Regions from separate parts of the Homo sapiens genome. Here regions 1 and 2 are each linked to region 3. Evidence: promoter capture Hi-C in 16 types of primary human blood cells and fetal thymus (Javierre and others, 2016). All regions are on one chromosome and are shown on one strand. Each heading gives the region's core, a stretch centred on a gene start or on the middle of the fragment in contact. The rest is flanking DNA. Distances are from core to core; before and after follow the strand shown.

What was found. Contacts are between HindIII fragments. The CHiCAGO score rates a contact against its expected background, and 5 or more counts as called.
Region 1: a contact is called between a fragment that was not itself captured here and the fragment with the promoter of DEPDC4 in region 3, in 7 of 17 cell types (total CD4 T cells, activated CD4 T cells, non-activated CD4 T cells and 4 more). The highest score is 11.2, in total CD4 T cells.
Region 2: a contact is called between a fragment that was not itself captured here and the fragment with the promoter of DEPDC4 in region 3, in 2 of 17 cell types (total CD4 T cells and naive CD4 T cells). The highest score is 8.3, in total CD4 T cells.

Annotation. Positions count from the first base shown.
Region 1 is chr12:101,320,603-101,323,397 of GRCh38, reverse strand. It overlaps UTP20 (UTP20 small subunit processome component), which reads right to left. Exons shown (of 62, transcript NM_014503.3): 24 at 2,461-2,546; 25 at 1,769-1,894. Among named protein-coding and RNA genes, the nearest start is that of UTP20, 42 kb to the right of the region's middle. The HindIII fragment of the contact is 983 bases long and covers 881-1,863 here.
Region 2 is chr12:101,296,847-101,299,759 of GRCh38, reverse strand. It overlaps UTP20 (UTP20 small subunit processome component), which reads right to left. Exons shown (of 62, transcript NM_014503.3): 13 at 1-78. Among named protein-coding and RNA genes, the nearest start is that of UTP20, 18 kb to the right of the region's middle. RefSeq lists an enhancer at 1-448. The HindIII fragment of the contact is 2,636 bases long and covers 251-2,886 here.
Region 3 is chr12:100,265,424-100,268,328 of GRCh38, reverse strand. DEPDC4 (DEP domain containing 4) reads left to right here and starts at 1,250. Exons shown (of 10, transcript NM_001364818.2): 1 at 1,250-1,409. The coding sequence starts at 1,253. It overlaps SCYL2 (SCY1 like pseudokinase 2), which reads right to left and starts at 1,152. Exons shown (of 18, transcript NM_017988.6): 1 at 537-1,152. RefSeq lists enhancers at 518-577, 588-657, 1,328-1,407 and silencers at 728-807, 908-957. The HindIII fragment of the contact is 4,398 bases long and covers 303-2,905 here.

The DNA of each region.
Region 1 (2,795 bases), core at 123-2,622, 1.1 Mb before region 3:
GTTCTGAACAACAATTTGGTAATATACACCAAAAAGTTTTAAAATTTTCATCAATTTTCCTATCAAGAATCTATTCTAATCCATCAATCGAATAAGATTTATAGGTATTCAATGTAAGATTTTCTATTTTGCAAAAAAACCAAAATAAACAACAAAAACTACAGACAGGCAAAATGCTCAACACAAGTAAATGACAGCTTGTCTATATGATGAAGAATCACATTTTGAAACATTTCATGATCTAAGAAAATTCTTGTAAAATATTAAGTGAAAAAAGGTTATAAAACGTTTTATAAAATATCATCTCAATTTTCTTTCAAAAACTTGTATGGGTGTATTATTTAGATGTTTTTTGGTAGCTTGTATTCAACTACTCTGGACTTCATACAACCATCTGCTTTTTACTCTTAGAAATTTAAAATATACAAGTATTGCGGATGTTTCCTATTTACTATTGTTTTTGAGATTATAAAGTTGATAGTTATTTTTGAGTGTTTGGATATAAGATGATTTCTGCTTTCTATTTTTATTGTTTCTGTAATCCACCAATAACTGTAATTTTGTATATTCACTTATTCACTCCCTCAAATATTTTTATGTCTATTATAGTAAAGTTCTTAAAGCTTGCTATAAATGGAATCTTAATGCTGGCTACAAATGGAACTAAACAGAGCCATTAGATAAGTGCTAGCAGAGTCCCTGAGCATATCTGAACCAGCTCCTATTAAGGAAACAGAAGCCCAGTGGATCTAAAAGACTTTCTCTATCTGATAGAACTACACAGTAGGGGGCTGGACCAAAAGCAAACCTGTTAAATCCCAATCCCATGATCTTTCCAATTCTCATCATTCCAGAGCTGGTGAGATGAAAGATTTAAGCTTCATTTTTCTTTATACCCAGCATATATAAACTTTGTATTATTTATGGATCATCTTTTTGCTCTACCATTTATAATTAAAGGAATAATAACATCATTAAATATCACATGATATTTGGAAAACAGAGTGAAATATTTCTACTGTATCTCAACAGTAAAATTTAGGAAAATATTAAATTTAATTATATTATTGTCACAATAATACTATGGTAAGATCTTCTTTATATTAGGGCCCAGGCGCAGTGGCTCACGCCTGTAATCCCAGCACTTTGGGAGGCAGAGGCGGGTGGATCGCCTGAGGTCAGGAGTTCAAGACCAGCCTGGCCAACATGGTGAAACTCTTTCTCTACTAAAAATACAAAAATTAGCCAGGCATGGTGGCGCACGCTTGTGATCCCAGCTACTCAGGAGGCTGAGGCACAAGAATAGCTTGAACCTGGGAGGGCGGAGGTTGCAGTGAGCTGAGATCACACCACTGCACTCCAGCCTGGGTGACAGAGCGAGACTCCCTCTAAAAAAAAAATAAATAAAGATCTTTCTTTATGTTAGGAACAAAATTTAGTCTCTATACCAATTTGGCTTCTCCCAAAGGTACAATTCAAAAAAAAAGCAGCTGGCGGTGATGGCTCACATTTGTAATCTTAGCACGTTGGGAGGCCAAGGTGGGAGCATCACTTGAGCCTGGGAGGTCTAGGCTGCAATGAGCTGTGATCATGCCACTGCACTCCAGCCTGGGTGACAGAGCAAGACCCCATCTCCAAAGAAAATGCAATCAAAAGAAAATAGAAAATGAAATATTCTATTACAGTTGTTGAAAGAACCATAATACTGTACTCACAATTGTGTTTGTTATTAACTTTTTAAAAATCAGTGTTTGAACAGCATAAATACCTCATCAGAATAGGAAATAGATCTGCTCGGTGGGCTGTTTTCACTACAGCATTATCTTCTGAAATGCTAAAATGCACTATCTCTTCCTTAAAGCTTCTGTCTTCAAGCAACCTTTGTAAGTTTTCCCTTTAAAAACAGAGAACAGCACAAATCACCACTTTATCAACAGTGCTTTTGAATAATGAAAGAGTGAAATATGTACACAGAGTAATAACTAAAATAAGGTATATAGTACATATTATGGTTGATATCCATAAAGGAAAATCCTCAAAAAAATCTCCTAAAATGACAGATTTGTACATTTCAAAAGGTATAACGGATTAGAAAAGATTAGATTCTGTCCATAACTCAGCTGTTTAAAAAAGCATGATACAAAAAGCTTTCCTCAGTTCTTAGAGTGACTTTGATTCTCTAAGTAACCACCAAGATTCTATGGCATTATATTAATAAGAAGAGGAAAATGACATAATATTTACAACACAGTTTTAAAATTAACATTCTCTATTTTAGTATCATGGAGAACAACCCAACAAATATACTACTCGTTTTCATTTCTTGCTTGGAAATACGATGACCTCAGAAAAAAGGGAAACTTTCTAGGCCTTTAATAAATTATTCTAGAAGAGGCTCTTAGGCAGAAATATAAAAATCAGCTGAAGAAATAACAGTTCTTTAAGCTTCAAGTAACTTACCTGTAAGGGAGGACATGAGGATGTTTATATGTCATTATGCAATCCAAGGTTATTTTTTGCACCATTTGATCTTGGTGTAGCAACAACTAAGAACAGTATTTTACAGAATTAATGAAGTCATATATACATATACCATAGGATAGCAATTTACTTGTGGTTATTTGCTAAATGAGATTTGAAAAATTCTAAATTTTTACACAAGACCTAAACCTGATTGCTAACAACAGCTTCACATTTTCCTGGAAGTAAAAAAAGATGAACAGAATATATGCAAAGTAAAAATGGAAACAAAACTCTCTGACACCTGCATCCCACAGTCATACCCTGGGGTCTAC
Region 2 (2,913 bases), core at 319-2,818, 1.0 Mb before region 3:
ATAGATAAAAGATGGTCCAATACTGGAAACTGTTCGTTTCTTCCCTTGGATCTAGTCTTCTTCTGCTTTATATAGAATCTGAAGGATTAAAAAAAATGTTTAAAATAACAGAGAATGTAATCGCTCTTGCCCTCTGAAGTCTGAAATAAAATTGGATTCTTACCATTGTGGAGCATTAGAGGGAAGGAATTGGTGGTGGTGGTTGAGCTAAACAAATGTGAGTCATTTACTGAGTTTTCAGTGAGAAGCTTTTTCAACTCCACTGGCTCTACTTCCTTTCACTTCTATTTTAATTTGCTTTATAACTTAAACCAAGTTTCTTCTAGTTTTAAGTATGATTTCTCAATTTTGTGCTCCTGGGCATGTTTTTGATTGACAATTCACTGGAATGAACTGACTTCCTCCATTCTCCCTTTCCTTTTTGACATGAATTTTACTACTTTCCACAAATGTAGAATGATGTTGCAAAGTTACTGTGATGAAGTTGACGAATACCACTAAAATGATTATGACATATAAGTAATTTTCTCCTGCTGCTTTGATCAGATACACAGTTGCTCAATGACATTTTTCGACATGACATTCTGTTTTGAATATCTGTGACTCTGGTCACAGATTAGATAGAGGCTAACTATTCTTGTTAGCCTCTTTTTATTTTTGCCAATGTACTACACCTCGGTCCTATTTGAAAGACAAAAATCTAATCAAAAGAAAAATCACAGAAATCTTAAGTTAAATGATCTGTTTTACAATTATCCTCCAACTCCAGTTTGGTTAGCTTGTTATGCAATAGAAGTGGAATATCAGGTTTTTACTCTTGCACCCTTTTTATCATTAAAATTCACCAAAAAATGGTCAGGTAGGGGAAGGAAGGAAAAAAAAAAACAAAAACAAAGAAAAAAAATTCTCCAAAAAGCTACATTCTCTTTTGTTTCATACTTACCAGGATGTTTAGTGTCTGGAAATCATGATAGATAACTAAGTTAATTTAATTATCAATTCCTTAAAGTCACCACATCTTGATATATATAGTCTTTTTAGTAATAATCATGACTCAACAATCTGCAAAAATCTTACAAAATACTAAGATGCTTTAAAAAACAAAAATGAGTCATTAGTTGCCACGTCATTCCCGTTTTCTAGACCTGCCAATGGCTCCACCAATGAAGTCCATACTCCTTAAGTCATCCTGTAAGGCCCTCTGTGATTTGACCCTCACCCACCTCCATCTCCTCTCACCCCAATCTCCTCCTTGCTCTTTACCCACAGAGGTTTTCTTTCTGTACTTCAAACATGCTGAGCTTATTCCTGTCCCAGAGTCTTTGCAGTTAACTTTTCCTTCTGTCTGGAGAGTCTCTCACTGAGATCTTTGCAAGGCTGGATCCTTCCCAGCTTAAAATTGGACCAAACGTTCCCTCTCTGGAAAGTGACCCCTCTCCATTCAGTCTCCCTCTCAACACTGCTTTGTCTTCTTTTATCACGATCAGGATCTGAAATCATCTCGCTTATTTGCTTACCCGCCTCACCACATTCCTTTCCCCAAAAGAAGGAACTTTTTTCTTATTCTTTGTTGCACCCCAGTATCCAGTGCCTGATACCGTAAGTAGTTGTCAAACGACAGTAAGTTTATCTCCTAAAGAGTCTTTTCACATTTATTATCTTTATTTTTTCTCACAGCAAACTGGTGAGATGGGTAGATAGAGTGTTACTAGTAATATTCAAACTATGATTTTAAAATCTTCATAGAAGGAATCAAAACAAAGGTGACCATTCACACATACCATATCTCCGTTGGGGGTGGCAGAGGGGTGTTTTTGCAGAGAAAGAAACACAGAAGTGGAAGAACTTGCCATGAGTTAGCACATCGAAATTTATTTATTTAACACGTCACCCTCCTGGGAGGATCTGAGATGGCTGAGATGATGGGGTAAGAAGGTCTGACGCCCAGTCTCAGTCAGTCCCTTAGCTTCACCTCATGGAAGCCAAACAACAAAGCAGCTTCACTCTCCCTGCACAGAACTCAGTTTTGGCATGTGCAAGGAATCTGCCTGTTGGAGATGGGCTTGGGTGTTGACAAATCAAGGGAAAAGTTTCAAAGGAATAATTCTATTGGAGTTACTCACTACCCATTCCTCAGGAATCAGAATTCAATACATTTAAAAACCAACAAGATTCTGTTGGCATATTTTAATAGAGAAGCAATTTGTAAGGTATACAGAAGATATAAGTAGGTGTTAAGATGAGTTTGCTAAACACAGTGGCTCAACCTGTAACCCCAACACTTTGAGAGGCCAAGGTAGGAAGATCACTTGAGTCCAGGAGTTTGAGACCAGCCTGGGCAACATAGCGAGACCTCGTCTCTACAAAAATTAAAAAATTAGCTGGGCATGGTGGTGCGTGCCTATGGTTCCAGCTACCTGGGAGGCTCAAGTGAGAGGATAGCTTGGGCCCTGGAGATCGAGGCTGCAGTGAGCCGTGATTGTGCCACTGCACTCCGGCCTGGGTGACAGAGCAAGACCTGCTCTTAAAATAATAATAATAATAAATAAAACATTTAAAAAAGAAAATAGGTTCCTCCAGAACCTCAAGCTGATCAAACTCAAAAGCTAGCTCTGCTCTGTGACTGTGGGACAGTAACTCCCACCTCCATGGATGTTTCAAAGTCGAGTATTCAGCACAAACTCAAGGAATGCCCATCAATTCCGCCTCAAAGCAAACCAAAAACACAACAACGGGTCTAACTACTCCAAGAGAAATAAGAAGATTAAGTATAAAAACAAAGGAATGACAAGGGAACTGGTTTCCTAAGCTACAGTTTCTAGAAGCATACCCACTTAACTATTTGAGAAATGATACAATAAATCTTCTCATGTATGTAAATAAGCTTTGTTTTTAACTTCTAAACAATGTGTC
Region 3 (2,905 bases), core at 1-2,500:
ACAGTGGCAGGCTGATTTGGAGCATTTTTGCTAAACTATTTATTTTTCAGAACGGAGATAGGCTACTTAGAAAACTCACTCATAGTATCCAATGTTTTTAGAAAGTGTCATCACAAATAATTCCTGAGTTTGACGTACTAAAAAATAGTTGACACCTTCCAATGAAGTCACTACAGGCATAGCGCTTTTAAGCAGCTTGTCTGGAGCCTCCTCGAGTGCCTTAGAGGGTGGATTTGATAATATGGCCTCCTTAATTACGGATCACAGGTATGTGCTCAAAGTCCAATAAGTTTTTGCAAGCTTTATCGGTCTAAACCCTCCTCCATCCGTATTCTCCCGTTTAGAAAAACAAGACTGCAGGAGTAACCGTGGGGTTTTTTCTCTTAACAAAACCCCTGCCCCACCCACCTCACACACAATAACCTTCCATTCCAGAACTAAAGCTACTGTCAGAGAAGGACGGCGGGCGGCAGGGCCCTGGCTGGTGACCCAGGCTACCGGATTCCGGACCTCAGAACTGAGGTGAACTCTCTCACCCGGTCCTAGAGTAGTGTCCAATGTCCCCGAAAGGTACTACGTTCTCCACCACCGAAACCCGAGCTCTCGAGCCGGCATGGGGGGCTCTCCCTCCGGCAGCTGACTTCGATCCCGGGTCTCCCGTCGCCTCAAGGCCTCTTTCGAGGACTCGGCCCTCTCGGATCCGCTCCCCGGAGCTCGCTGCTCGTCCAGCCCCGCTTTGCGCGGGCGCCGACCGCCGATCGCCCGGCCGGCCGCCGGCAGGCCCGTCACCAGGCAACACCCACCAGCCTGAGCGGCCCTGGGAGGCCTAACCCGGGCGCGAGTCCTCCATTCCCTCCTCGCCGGCTCCGGGAGCCCAGGCGAGAGAGCCGCCGGTGAGGGAGGTCGGTCGGTGCCGGCGGCCGGTCACTTACCTCTTCCTTCTTCCAGGAGGGGCGGTGCTGGGGCTCTTTCCCCCCGCCCCCCTAATAAACGCCTCCTGGCTGTTCCTGCTCTGCCTTCGTGCCTGGCCACTGACTCTGGCTTTACTCCATATCCTCCGCCGCCCCCGCGGCCGCAAACGTCGGAGCTAGAAGGAAAGGGGTGGGGAGGGGAGGGACCGGGGACGAAGAGTAAGGGAGGGGGAAAAAGACTAAAAGACCTGCCGGCCGGGGGCATGACGTCACTTCCTGCCGGTTCGGAAGAGGCGGAGCCAGTACTTCTCTCCGCCCCGGGTGTCAGGTGGGGCGGGGCTATGGTGCCAGGGGAGGAGCCAGCGCGCGAGCTTATGGCGGTTCTTTTGACTCCGAGGTTCCGTAGACTTGTCAGTCAGAACGAGCTTCCGGGCCCAGGGCTGAACGGGCCAAGTTCCAGGAACCGTAGAGATGGCTTCTGCCGGAAAAGGAGGACAGGTAGCCCTGTATATCCTAGCCAAATGTGCAGTGAAGGTGGAGGGGGCAGCTGAAGGGAGCAGGCGGCTGGGACTCTGCTCCTCATTGGTCCAGGGCCCCGCCCATTTCCTAGCCCCGCCCCCTTCCTGCCCTACCAGGCACTGGACTGGGGGACCCAGGACTGAGGCTTTTTAGGGGTTACTGTGGTGAAGTGCCCTTGGAGCGTGCAGGAAAGCGTTTTTTCTCAAACTTTAATATACATACGAATCCCTAGGATCTTGTGAAAGTGCAAATTCTGATTGAGGAGTAGGGTCTGATAATCTGCGTTTCTAATACATGTCCAGATGGCACCAATGCTGCTGGTCCCTAGGCTACACTTACAGCAACAAGGGGTTAATGTACTAGAGGGCAAATTCCTTGAGCTAGAGGAGTTATTTCTTTAATCTAGCCTACTTGTTTAATGAAGGTTAGAGAGGTAGACTGTCTATGGAAAACAGGCTGTACCGCTGTATTTTCCACCTACCCCGTCGAGTACCCTCCTGCCCACCTCCGCCCATCACTTTCTGGCCTCCCCTCCTCAGTCTCCGCTCTGCCCACAATGTCTGGGGATAAGATTTCTTGAGTGATTAGACGGGTAACTTCTGTTACAGAAGGAATTTGAGGGTGGTGGATTTTTATTTCTGTCATTTTATCGTAAACATATGTATAGTTGGGCATACTTTTGCGGTTATGCATAGTTGGAGAAGAGAGCTTAAGTTCTTGGATTCTACCCACTTCCCCCTGCAAATCTAGAAAAAACATTCTAGAAGTTCTAAGTTATTCCCTTATCATTCTTTAATTTTTTTAATTAATTTTAATTAAATTTAATTTTAATTAAAATTTTACTGGGGTACGGAAGAATGAAGAATGACTGCGAACTATAGGTTTCTTTGTGGAATGATGCAATGGTCTGAAATTAGATAATAGTGATGGCTGCACAACTTTGTGAATGTACTAGAAACACTGAATTGTACACTTTAAAAGGGTACATCCTCTTTCATCAGCCACCATTACAATCCTTCTTCCCCAAGGTTACTCGTTTGAAGTTTATTCTTCCAGATCTTTCTATTTATTTACATACATTTTTACATAGGTTGGGAATTCATTTTTACCTAAGTAGGATAATAATATACAAGTTGTTCTGCTCAGCTCATTTTTAAAAAATTTTTGTTTTGGGTTTTTCTTTTTCCCTACTTAATGAGATCCTTGCACACTATAAACATAGCTCTACTTCATTCTTTCTAATGGCTGGCTACTATTCTATAGTAAGGGTATACCATAATTTATTTAACTGTTTTTTTCAGGTAATAGACTGTTTTTTTTCCCTTGCCCAGGCTGGAGTGCAATGGCGTGATCTCGGCTCACCGCAACCTCCACCTCCTGGTTCTAGCAATTCTCCTGCCTCAGCTTCCCAAGTAGCTGGGATTACAGGCGTGCGACACCATGCCCAGCTAAATTTTTTTGTGTTGTATTTTTGG